Linked DNA regions of Homo sapiens: region 2 is linked to region 1. The links are contacts of gene promoters, found by promoter capture Hi-C in blood cells and fetal thymus (Javierre and others, 2016). All regions are on one chromosome and are shown on one strand. Each heading gives the region's core, a stretch centred on a gene start or on the middle of the fragment in contact. The rest is flanking DNA. Distances are from core to core; before and after follow the strand shown. Region 1 holds the start of ARMC3 (armadillo repeat containing 3). Region 2 has its middle 27 kb from the start of DNAJC1.

Evidence for each region. The method cuts DNA at HindIII sites, captures the fragments that hold promoters and counts their contacts. A CHiCAGO score of 5 or more calls a contact.
Region 2: a contact is called between a fragment that was not itself captured here and the fragment with the promoter of ARMC3 in region 1, in 6 of 17 cell types (naive CD8 T cells, endothelial precursors, naive CD4 T cells and 3 more). The highest score is 5.9, in naive CD8 T cells.

The regions. Positions count from the first base shown.
Region 1 is chr10:22,925,382-22,930,092 of GRCh38, forward strand. ARMC3 (armadillo repeat containing 3) reads left to right here and starts at 2,672. Exons shown (of 19, transcript NM_173081.5): 1 at 2,672-2,725. The HindIII fragment of the contact is 5,434 bases long and covers 1-4,711 here.
Region 2 is chr10:22,028,214-22,032,924 of GRCh38, forward strand. No RefSeq gene overlaps it. Among named protein-coding and RNA genes, the nearest start is that of DNAJC1, 27 kb to the left of the region's middle. The HindIII fragment of the contact is 570 bases long and covers 1,573-2,142 here.

The sequences.
Region 1 (4,711 bases), core at 1,422-3,921:
ATATTTTTGAACAATGACAGAAGCTATTGTAGTAGGAAGCAGTCAGTCAGAACAAGAAAGATCTTGAGTGTCAATTTAAGAATCTTGTTGCATTTCATCATTTGTGTGTTAGAGCTATTGGAGCCAGCAAGGACACAGACAAATTAAATTTGCATCTTAGAATGATTACTTTGATTGTCTTGGAGAAGATGAATTGAAGCTAGGATGAGTCTAGAGGATGGAAGACCTGCCAGAAGGCTTGTTAGATGAATTCAGGTAAAGGACAGTGACTTTCTGTACTTGGGCTATGGGAATTGGAAGGTGAGAATAAATTCAAGAAACTTTTAGGGGAATCCAATAATTAACTGCATGAAAAGGAGAATAAGTCTAGGATGCCTGTCAGACTTGGTGGTCTGTTTGGGTAGAACACCTGTTGGTACCCCTAGATAAATGGAAAAACATGTCTATACTGGGAAAATGATGAGTTTAGGTGGGTAGTGTTGATGACTGAAGTGCCTGTGGGTATCCAGGTGGAACTGTGTAGCAAGTAGGATATATGGGTCTAGAGTTCAGTACCGGAGTCTGATGAGGAGCTACATATGTGCAATAGTTGAAGTCACAAATATAAATAAGATCACCTAGAAAAGCATATAGTGTGAAAAGAGAACAAGGGACAGATCCCTGGGAAATTTCAACATTTAAGATTCTGTAAAAAAACCACAATAGGGCATATATCCCTATAAAATCCCAGCTACTCAGGAGGCTGAGTCAGGAGGATTCCTTGAGGCCAGGAATTCAAGACAAGCCTGGGCAACATAGATAGACCCTGTTGTATAGAAAAGATCTTAAATGATGGTCATAAAAGAAAGTAGGAGGAAGATCAAGAGCAAGTAGTACCAAGGAAACCAAGAAAAGAGTTTCAAGAATGAGGTGTCATTGAGTATTATATACAGCAGCAATGTCAAGCAAGATGAGGGCTAAGAAGCATCCAATGGATATGGATAGTTTTAGTGCTGGGATGAAAACAGGTCACTATAGTCTGAAGAGTGAATAGGAAGTTAAAAATATGTAAGTATCTAATGCTGGCTACTTTTTTTGAAAAGTCATGACCAAGAAGAGAAAGAAAACAATAGGATAATAGTTAGAAGGAACAACAACATCAAAGGGATTTTATTTGTTTTTGCTTTTTAGATGAGGCATGGGAGGGGCTTCAACATAATTATATACCAACAGGAAAAAACGTGGAAGACAGGGAGAGGCTGAAAATACAGGTGTATATTATTCAAGGTCCAATCATATAACACTTGATGACGCTTATATTCTTGAAACTCCCTCCTTAGTTTCCTTGATGCTACTTGGTCTTAATCCTTTTCCTACTTTCATGACCATTACTTAAGATCTTTTCTATACAGAAGTCACACCGGATATTTGACCATGGAAAACTGAATACAAATAATTGTTATAAAGCTGTTTATCAGGCAATTTAAATGGTGAGAAGAGAACATAAGATATATAAAAGTAGCAATTATAAGAAGCATCTATCATTCTTAGGACTGGGAGACCAACAGGGGCCGGTAGGAGACGGAATTTGCAAAGTCTAAGAGGAGAGGGAGAGACTTTTTGCTAAAGGCAATCAAAAAATATTTTATGAAGATGGCATTTGAGCTGGGCTTAATTAAGTGGAAATGAGAGAATATTTCAGGTATTGCACATGACCTGGGAAATAGAAGCTACTTTATAAATATTTGTTGAAAAATGAAGTGATGAACAGATAAGCAAGAAAATCTAGAGAAAAGTGTGGAAAATTTCGGGAACAGTAAGTTTGGCTGGAGCTTGGATGGTGGAGATCGGTTGAAAATGTGGTTGCACAGATGGAGTAGAGATGGAGCAGACGGTCTTAAATTCCAGGCCAATGTGTTGAAAATTTATCTTAGGAAGCCGCTGACATTTGAGTAGGGAAGTGACAAGACTGGAACGATGATTTCTGGATGGCCGATTTGCCTGTGATACGTAGAAAGAACTGTAAGCAGAGAGCAACTGAATTTCTCAGCCAGAAGGCCAAAAAATGACGAGCTGGATTGAAGTGACAATAAGGATATGAGAAAGGGAACAAGCAGGAAACAAAATGTAAGCCGCCAAGAAGTGGCTGAAGTGATGACTGTGGTTGGGGGGCATGGGAGGAAGAAGGGAAATTGAAGCTCCTTCTGAGTCTAGGCAATTGGAAGAATGGCAGGAAGAGGAAAGAAAGAGGAAGAGAACGGGGCTTTGAAGGGCCATGAGAAGTTCTGTGGAAACGGATTGGACATCCTAGTGCAAAGAGATGTGGCAGTGCAGGTCTGCAGCTTAACGGAGCCTGGGCAGGAGGTGGCTGATGTGGGTTTCATCTGCATAGAGATTCCGGCTGACGCCTCTATTTGGAAGAATGCAATAGTATTTGCGTATTTGAACCCACAGCCAGTCCTTGGGCCAGAAACTGAGGCTGAACTGCCTCTTGATTTACAGCTTCCACCCCCAGTTTCCATTCTCCCCTAAAGCACTGGATTCAGGTAATCGCGGACGCACTTGGCTCCTCCCGCACTGGCCGCTGCCCTCGGCGGGACAATGGGCGCCCTAGCAGCCCCGAGCGTTCCCAGGGCGCAGGCGCGGCGCGGCGTGGCGTCGCCTAGCAACGAGGCACAACAAGGGACTGGGGGTTCGTCTGCTGGGTTTGCGGAGCAGCTAGCTACTCGGCGGGATCTCCCGGCAGGTAAAGGTAACCCCGTGGGGTGGGGAGGCCCAAGGCAGAGGCCTGAGGAAAACCTGGGAAAGGAGAAGGTGCCACGTGGGCGCAGACTGCTTGGGTCAGTGAGGCAACACCTTGCTGGGCGTTGTTAGTTTCTGCCTCGCGCCCGCAGGGTTAGACGGGGCTTGGGGTGGGTTTCGTAAGCATCCCGCCACCTCCCATTCAACAGGTGACAAAACTGAGGCCCGAGAGGGGATCTGAGGTGAGATCAAGTCAGATTCCGTTACTTGACTGTGAGCAACTCAGAAGTGGCCTCGATTTCTTGAGCCCTCCTCCTCTTTAAATCTTCTCAAAGCAGAACTCATTAGAAAATATTTAAAATCATAGGCTGAACGTTCACGAAGAACAAATACAAAGGACCAATCAACTCGTGAAAAAAAAAATGGCTCCAGTAGTCAAGAAGATGCATTTTTAGAGCAGAGTTGTTTGCATATCCAATGCCCTGAAGTTTTCACCCAGTTAATTTACTGCTAGAGATTTATCCTAAAGAAATAGTTGGGGATAATGGATGAAAATTTTATGTCCAAGGACGTTCTTTCAGCCCTGTCCATATTTCCAGAAAATTAGAAACAAATTTCAACAATCAGAGACTGGCTAGATAGCTAAGGGATTTTAAAATATTTGTAATGGCATGTTATGCTAATCCACTGGAGATTATTAAAGCAATGAAGGGAAACTGAGACTTCATGAATTTATTTGTTAATATAAGAATTTAGTAGGAATATGAACCCAGGAAGGGAAGGTGAAAGTAGGGGATAGAAGTTGAGGCAGGATGTTAAAATCACTTTAGAAAAACACACAAAGCCAGGTACGGTGGCTCACGCCTACAACCCCAGCACTTTGGGAGGCTGAGGCGGGTGGATCGCCTGAAGTCAGGAGTTCGAGACCAACCTGGTCAATGTGGGGAAACCTGTCTCTACTGAAAATACAAAAATTAGCCGAGCGTGGTGGCGGGTACCTGTAATCCCAGCTACTCAGGAGGCTGAGGCAGGAGAATCTCTTAAACCTGGGAGGTGGAGGTTGCAATGAGCCAAGATCAGGCCACTCTCCAGCCTGGGCAACAGAGTGAGACTCTGTCTCAAAAAAGAAAAAGAAAAAGAAAAAAAGAGAAGAGAGAGAGAGAGGGAGAGAGAGAGAGAGAAAGAGAGAGAGAAAGAGAAAGAAAAAGAAAAAGAAAGGAAAGGAAAGGAAAGGAAAGGAAAAGAAAAGAAATAGTATTGATCTCTCTGAGCTTATCTTTGGGTGATTTTTATTTTATTCGTTGTGCCCTTGTTTTCCAAATTCTCCACAGTGAAATGTATTACCCTTGTAAGGATCATCTCCATAGCTCATTGCCACCGACCTATGTCAGCTGTTCAGTCTCTCCTCCATTAACTATCATACCCAATATGGTGATAAAACACATAGGCTTTTTTTGGGGGAGGAGACAGAGTCTCGCTCTGTCACCCAGGCTGGAGTGCAATGGGGTGATCTCAGCTTATTGCAACCTCCGCCTCCCGGCCTCAAGCAATTCTCCTGCCTCAGCCTCCCCAGTAGCTGGGAATGCAGGCACATGCCACCGCCACTCCAGGCTAATTTTTGTATTTTTAGTAGAGACAGAGTTTTGCCATGTTGTCCAGGCTGGTCTTGAGCTCCTGACCTCAGGTGATCCACCCGCCTCAGCCTCCCAAAGTGCTGGGATTACAGGAGTGAGCCACCACGCCGGGCCATGATAAAACACATAGGCTTTTAACTTCATTCTTTAGCTTAGGAGACACTCTATCATTGCAATACTGTCTGTGTAAGCTCTTCTAACCTCTGCACTATGCAATTGCTCAAAAACACTATCCTGAAGTAGGAAAAATTAGTTCCTAAGTGAAAATCAGATGATTTAAAACAACTTTATGCAGGTGTAATTAAATTGCTTCCTGAATATTATTCATAAGCAATTATTTTATAAATCAAAGGCTG
Region 2 (4,711 bases), core at 608-3,107, 900 kb before region 1:
ACTCTGCCATCCTTGAACTATTGTCCAGGTCCCAGTATTATTTTTTTAACTTTTTATTTTGACAAAATTATGAAATCACCTGCAGTTGTAGGAAGTAATACAAAGAAATCTCATATACCTTTTACTCAGTTTCTTTTCATGGTAACAGCTTGCATAACTAGAGTACAATATCCTAACCAGAAAACTTATACTGCTGCAAACTATTGACTTTATTCAGTTGTTACCAGATTTGCATACATTCACTTGTGTATGTGTGGTGTGTGTGTGTGTGTGTGTGTATGCATAAGTAGGTGTGTTTAGTTCTATGCAATTTTACCACGGTTAAGTTACATAATGGTTCTATCACAACGATCCTTCATGTTATTCTTTATTCCTTCATAGCCAGTCATGTCAACTCTTCCCCAAACCACCACTCCTAACATCTGTTCTCTAAGTCTATAATGTCATCTCAAGAGTGTCATGGAGTATATCATTCAATGAAATATCATTTGGCAATTAAAAGACAGTACTGACACATGGCACAACATGGATGAACCTTGAAAATATGCCACGTGAAAGAAGCCAAGCACAAAGGATCACACAACGGATGACTCCATTTCTTTTTGAAATGTCCAGAATAGACAAATCTGTAGAGACAGAAAGGAGATTAGTAGTTGCCATGGGCTGGGTGGGATGGGGGGAATTTTTGGTGATGGCTAAGTGATCTAGAAGGGAGGGCTTAATAAAAATGTCCTAAGATTGATTGTGGTGATGGTTGCACCTCTGTGAATATACTAAAAGCCATTGAATTGTACACTTTAAATGGGTGAATTACATGGCACGTGAACTATATCTCAATAAAGGTGTTTTTTAAAAAAAGAATGCAATGGAAATAGAGTCAGACAATAGGTGACTCTCTGAGACTGGTCCTATCATTTTAAAGCAAAAGTTTGGTCCCAGAGAAAGTATCTGTTGCAGATGTAGTAGATACATAATAATACAGTACAGAAAAGTTAGATATGAGCTATCATAGTTGAGTGTGGTAAGAGGTCACTTGGCATGGTCAGAAGGAAGGGGAGAACCTGCCAGCTCTCAGAGGAGTCTAGGTGGGATTACCATGCACATATAAATACAATCCAGGTGGGTCTCTTTTCAAGTCTACTCCAAGGATGAGATTTCTCAACTCTTTCTGGAACTGGACCCAAATGGGATGGATGAAAATAAGCTGTTTCAGCTCAATTCAGATAAGGCTTTTATTGGAAGAGAAAGCCAACAACGATAGAAATTTACACATACACTGAGGTTCACCGCCTCAGCTGCTTCTAGATTCACAGATAAAAACCATAGAGCAGAGTTCCTTTCTGTACTTGGCACAGAGATTAAACACCCTCATATGTGGCTCTTATCTTGTTTTGTACTTTTACTTCCCTCCGCACTAGATCATTACAAAGCTTTCTACTGGGAGAGACACGTTTCTAGACCTTATGTAATTATTTTCTGGTAGAAATGGAGTGACTCATTCAACTATAGAACGCTGTCCCTTGATCAGTGTTATCGTGGTTACTCACCATCGATCAGCATTCAGTAGAAGTAAGCTTGATTGCAATTAGCCTTTGTAGATCAGTGCATGATATAGTTTCAAAGCTAGAAATTTGAGAATTGAACATTTTCAAAAAGAGCTCCTAAAGGCAAATCCTTTAATAATTTCAAAATATCAAGAACTCACAATTTTCTGAGATAGATAGCTTATATGAATGGTCTCTATTTGAGAGAGAGAGAGAGAGGTAAAAGGTTATTTGCCGTTACTCTGACACTGGGTTCCTGCCCATTGTGTATTGCACTTTCACAGTAGAACAAAACTGCAAGAGTAATTAATCCTTAACTGGCTAAATAAACTCTCTCTCACAGAGCATTACCTTCTCTGACTTTAGAGATATTAACTACCGTAGAAATGTTTCACAAACGTGGTATTTCATGAACGTTAGAACAGAGTTCATTCTCTAAACCAGGGTTGGCAAACGTTTTCTGTAAAGGGCTAGATATTAACTATTTTAGATTTTGTGGACCACGTAGTCTCTGTTGAAACTAATCTACTCTGCCATGGTAGCCCAAACACAGCCATAGATAATAAGTAAATGAAGAGGTATGACTGTGTTCCAACGAAGCTTTATTTGTGAACACTGAAGTTTGAATTTTATATCAATTTCCACTGTTATAAAAATGTTGTTTTGATTTTTTTTCCAAAAATTTTTTTTTCTTAGTTCACAGGCTCTATAGAAACAGGGATGGAGCCAGATTTGGCCTGTGGGGCTTCGTCTGTCTGCTCCTGCTCTAACTGATGGAAGAGTAAAAACATCATAGGCTGTACAGAAGAGTGGTTTGGAAGCTGTGACTTGGTATCAGGCAGATATGAGTTTGAATACTGGCTTTTCCACTCACTAGGTGTATGACCTTGGGCAAGTTACACAACCTGTTTAAACCTCAGCGTCCTCATCTATAAAAGTGAGGATGATAACAGCCACTAATAGGAATGCTGTAAAAATTAAATGAAATAATACATGTATGTTTAGCACATACATGGTCATAGTGAATGCAGTTAAACCTACAGCAAGTGTCATGAGAAGTACAAAGCCTTTCCTTTTCTCAGATCTGTATCCGCACCCTGGAATTCATAGAGGGATATTTATCAAGACAGTATGGATCAGGCCAAATCTTAGAGTCATTCCTGAGTCCTATTCTCTTTTCCCCCCATTCAATTCAGCAGCAAATCATGTCTTCTCTAACTTCAAAATTTTCCCAGAATCTGACCATTTCTCCACAACCATCACCCTAATCCATGCCACCATCAACTCTCATCTGGTCTTTCTGGTTCCACCCTTGCCTCCTCTCACCTAATCTCTGCAGAAATGCTTCTAAAATATAACTCAGATTGCTTCATTCCTCTTCCCCAAACCCTCTAATCATTCATGCAGAGGAAAATCCCAGGTCCTTACCATCTAAGCCCTCTGGTCTCCTACACTCTTCCCCTTGCTCCCTCAGCCCCAGCCAGAGTGGCATCGTTGTCCTTCAAAACTGTCAATCCTGCTCCCACTTCCCACTTAATATTTGTTGGTATGTCTGTCTGGAATGTTCTTCTCCCAGATAACAAAGTAGTTTCAATTTTACTAGTTCCCTCACGTCACTGCCCAAATATAATATTATTAGAAAAGCATTTCCTGACTCTCCTTAAATGATCTCATCCTACTTGGTGGTCATATTACCACCTCCCACTATATTTCATATTTATTTGTGGATTGGATGCCTCCCCCTTCTAGAAGGTAAGCTCATGAAAGCAGACTTTATGTATCTTGTTTACAGCTGCATCCTCAATGTCTAAAACAGTGCCTGACACTGAGTAGTTTCAAATTTGTTGAGTGAATTAATAAATGACTTTTTGCTGCTCTAAAATTTTCTCAAGTTCGTGAGCTTCTTGAGTATTATTCTTATATTCATTAGATTATATGTTTTGCTGTGTATAAGAAACAGATTAGAGAGAAATTAATTTACTTATTTATTACTCAAGATTCTGGAGGTAGGAGATTTAGATTCCAATGTCTGCTTGTTACCAAGTTCCAAAGTCACTTCCACATTTTCAGATATCTTTATAGCAATGCCCCATTCCTTGGTACCAATTTTCCATTTTAGTCTGTTTCCGCATTGCTATTTAAAAAAATACCTGAAGGCAGGGTGTGGTGGCTCATGTCTGTAATCCTAGCACTTTGGGAGGCTGAGGTGGGTGGATCATTTGAGGTCAGGAGCTCGAGACCAGCCTGACCAATATGGTGAAACCCCACCTCTACTAAAAATACAAAAAAATTAGCCAGGCATGGTGGCATGTGCCTGTAGTTCCCAGCTACTGGGGAGGCTGAGACAGGAGAATTGCTTGAACCCGGGAGGCGGAGGTTGCAGTGAGCCGAGGTTCTGCCACTGCACTCCAGCCTGGGCAATGAAGTGAGACTCCGTCTCAAAAACAAACAAACAGACAAACAAACCAACAAAAAAACACAAAAACACCTGAGACTGGGTAATTTATAAAGAAAAGAGGTTTAGTTGGCTCACTGATATGGTTTGGCTATGTCCCCACCCAAGTCTCGTCTTGAATTCCCTCATGTTGTGGGAGGGACCCAGTGGGAGGTAATTAAATCATGGGGGCAAGTCTTTCCCATGCTGTTCTCGTGACAGTGAATAAATCTCATGAGATCTGACGGTTTTATAAAGAGGAGTTCCCCTGCACAAGCTCTCTTTGTCTGCTGCCATCCATGTAAGACATGACTTGCTCCTCCTTGCCTTCTGCCATGATTGTGAGGCCTCCCCAGCCATGTGGAACTGTGAGTCCATTAAACCTTTTAACTGTATAAATTACCCAGTCTCAGGGATGTCTTTATTAGCAGTGTGAAAATGGACTAATACACTCATAGTTCAGCAGTCTGTACAGGAAGCATGGTGGCTTCTGCTTCTGGGGAGGCCTCAGGGATCTTTTACTCAGGAGATTTGTCCAGGTAATGAGGCTTCCTCTAATTTGTTGCTATGATTTCTAAAGTGTGTTGTCCTTTTCTGAATGATCCACAATGGGTCTCTATTATATATATACTTATTTCAAGCAGCAGGAAGGAGGAAGAGGTGGGAAAGCCACACATAGACTCTATTTAAGGATACGTTCTGTAAATTGTACGAAACATTTCCACTCACTTCT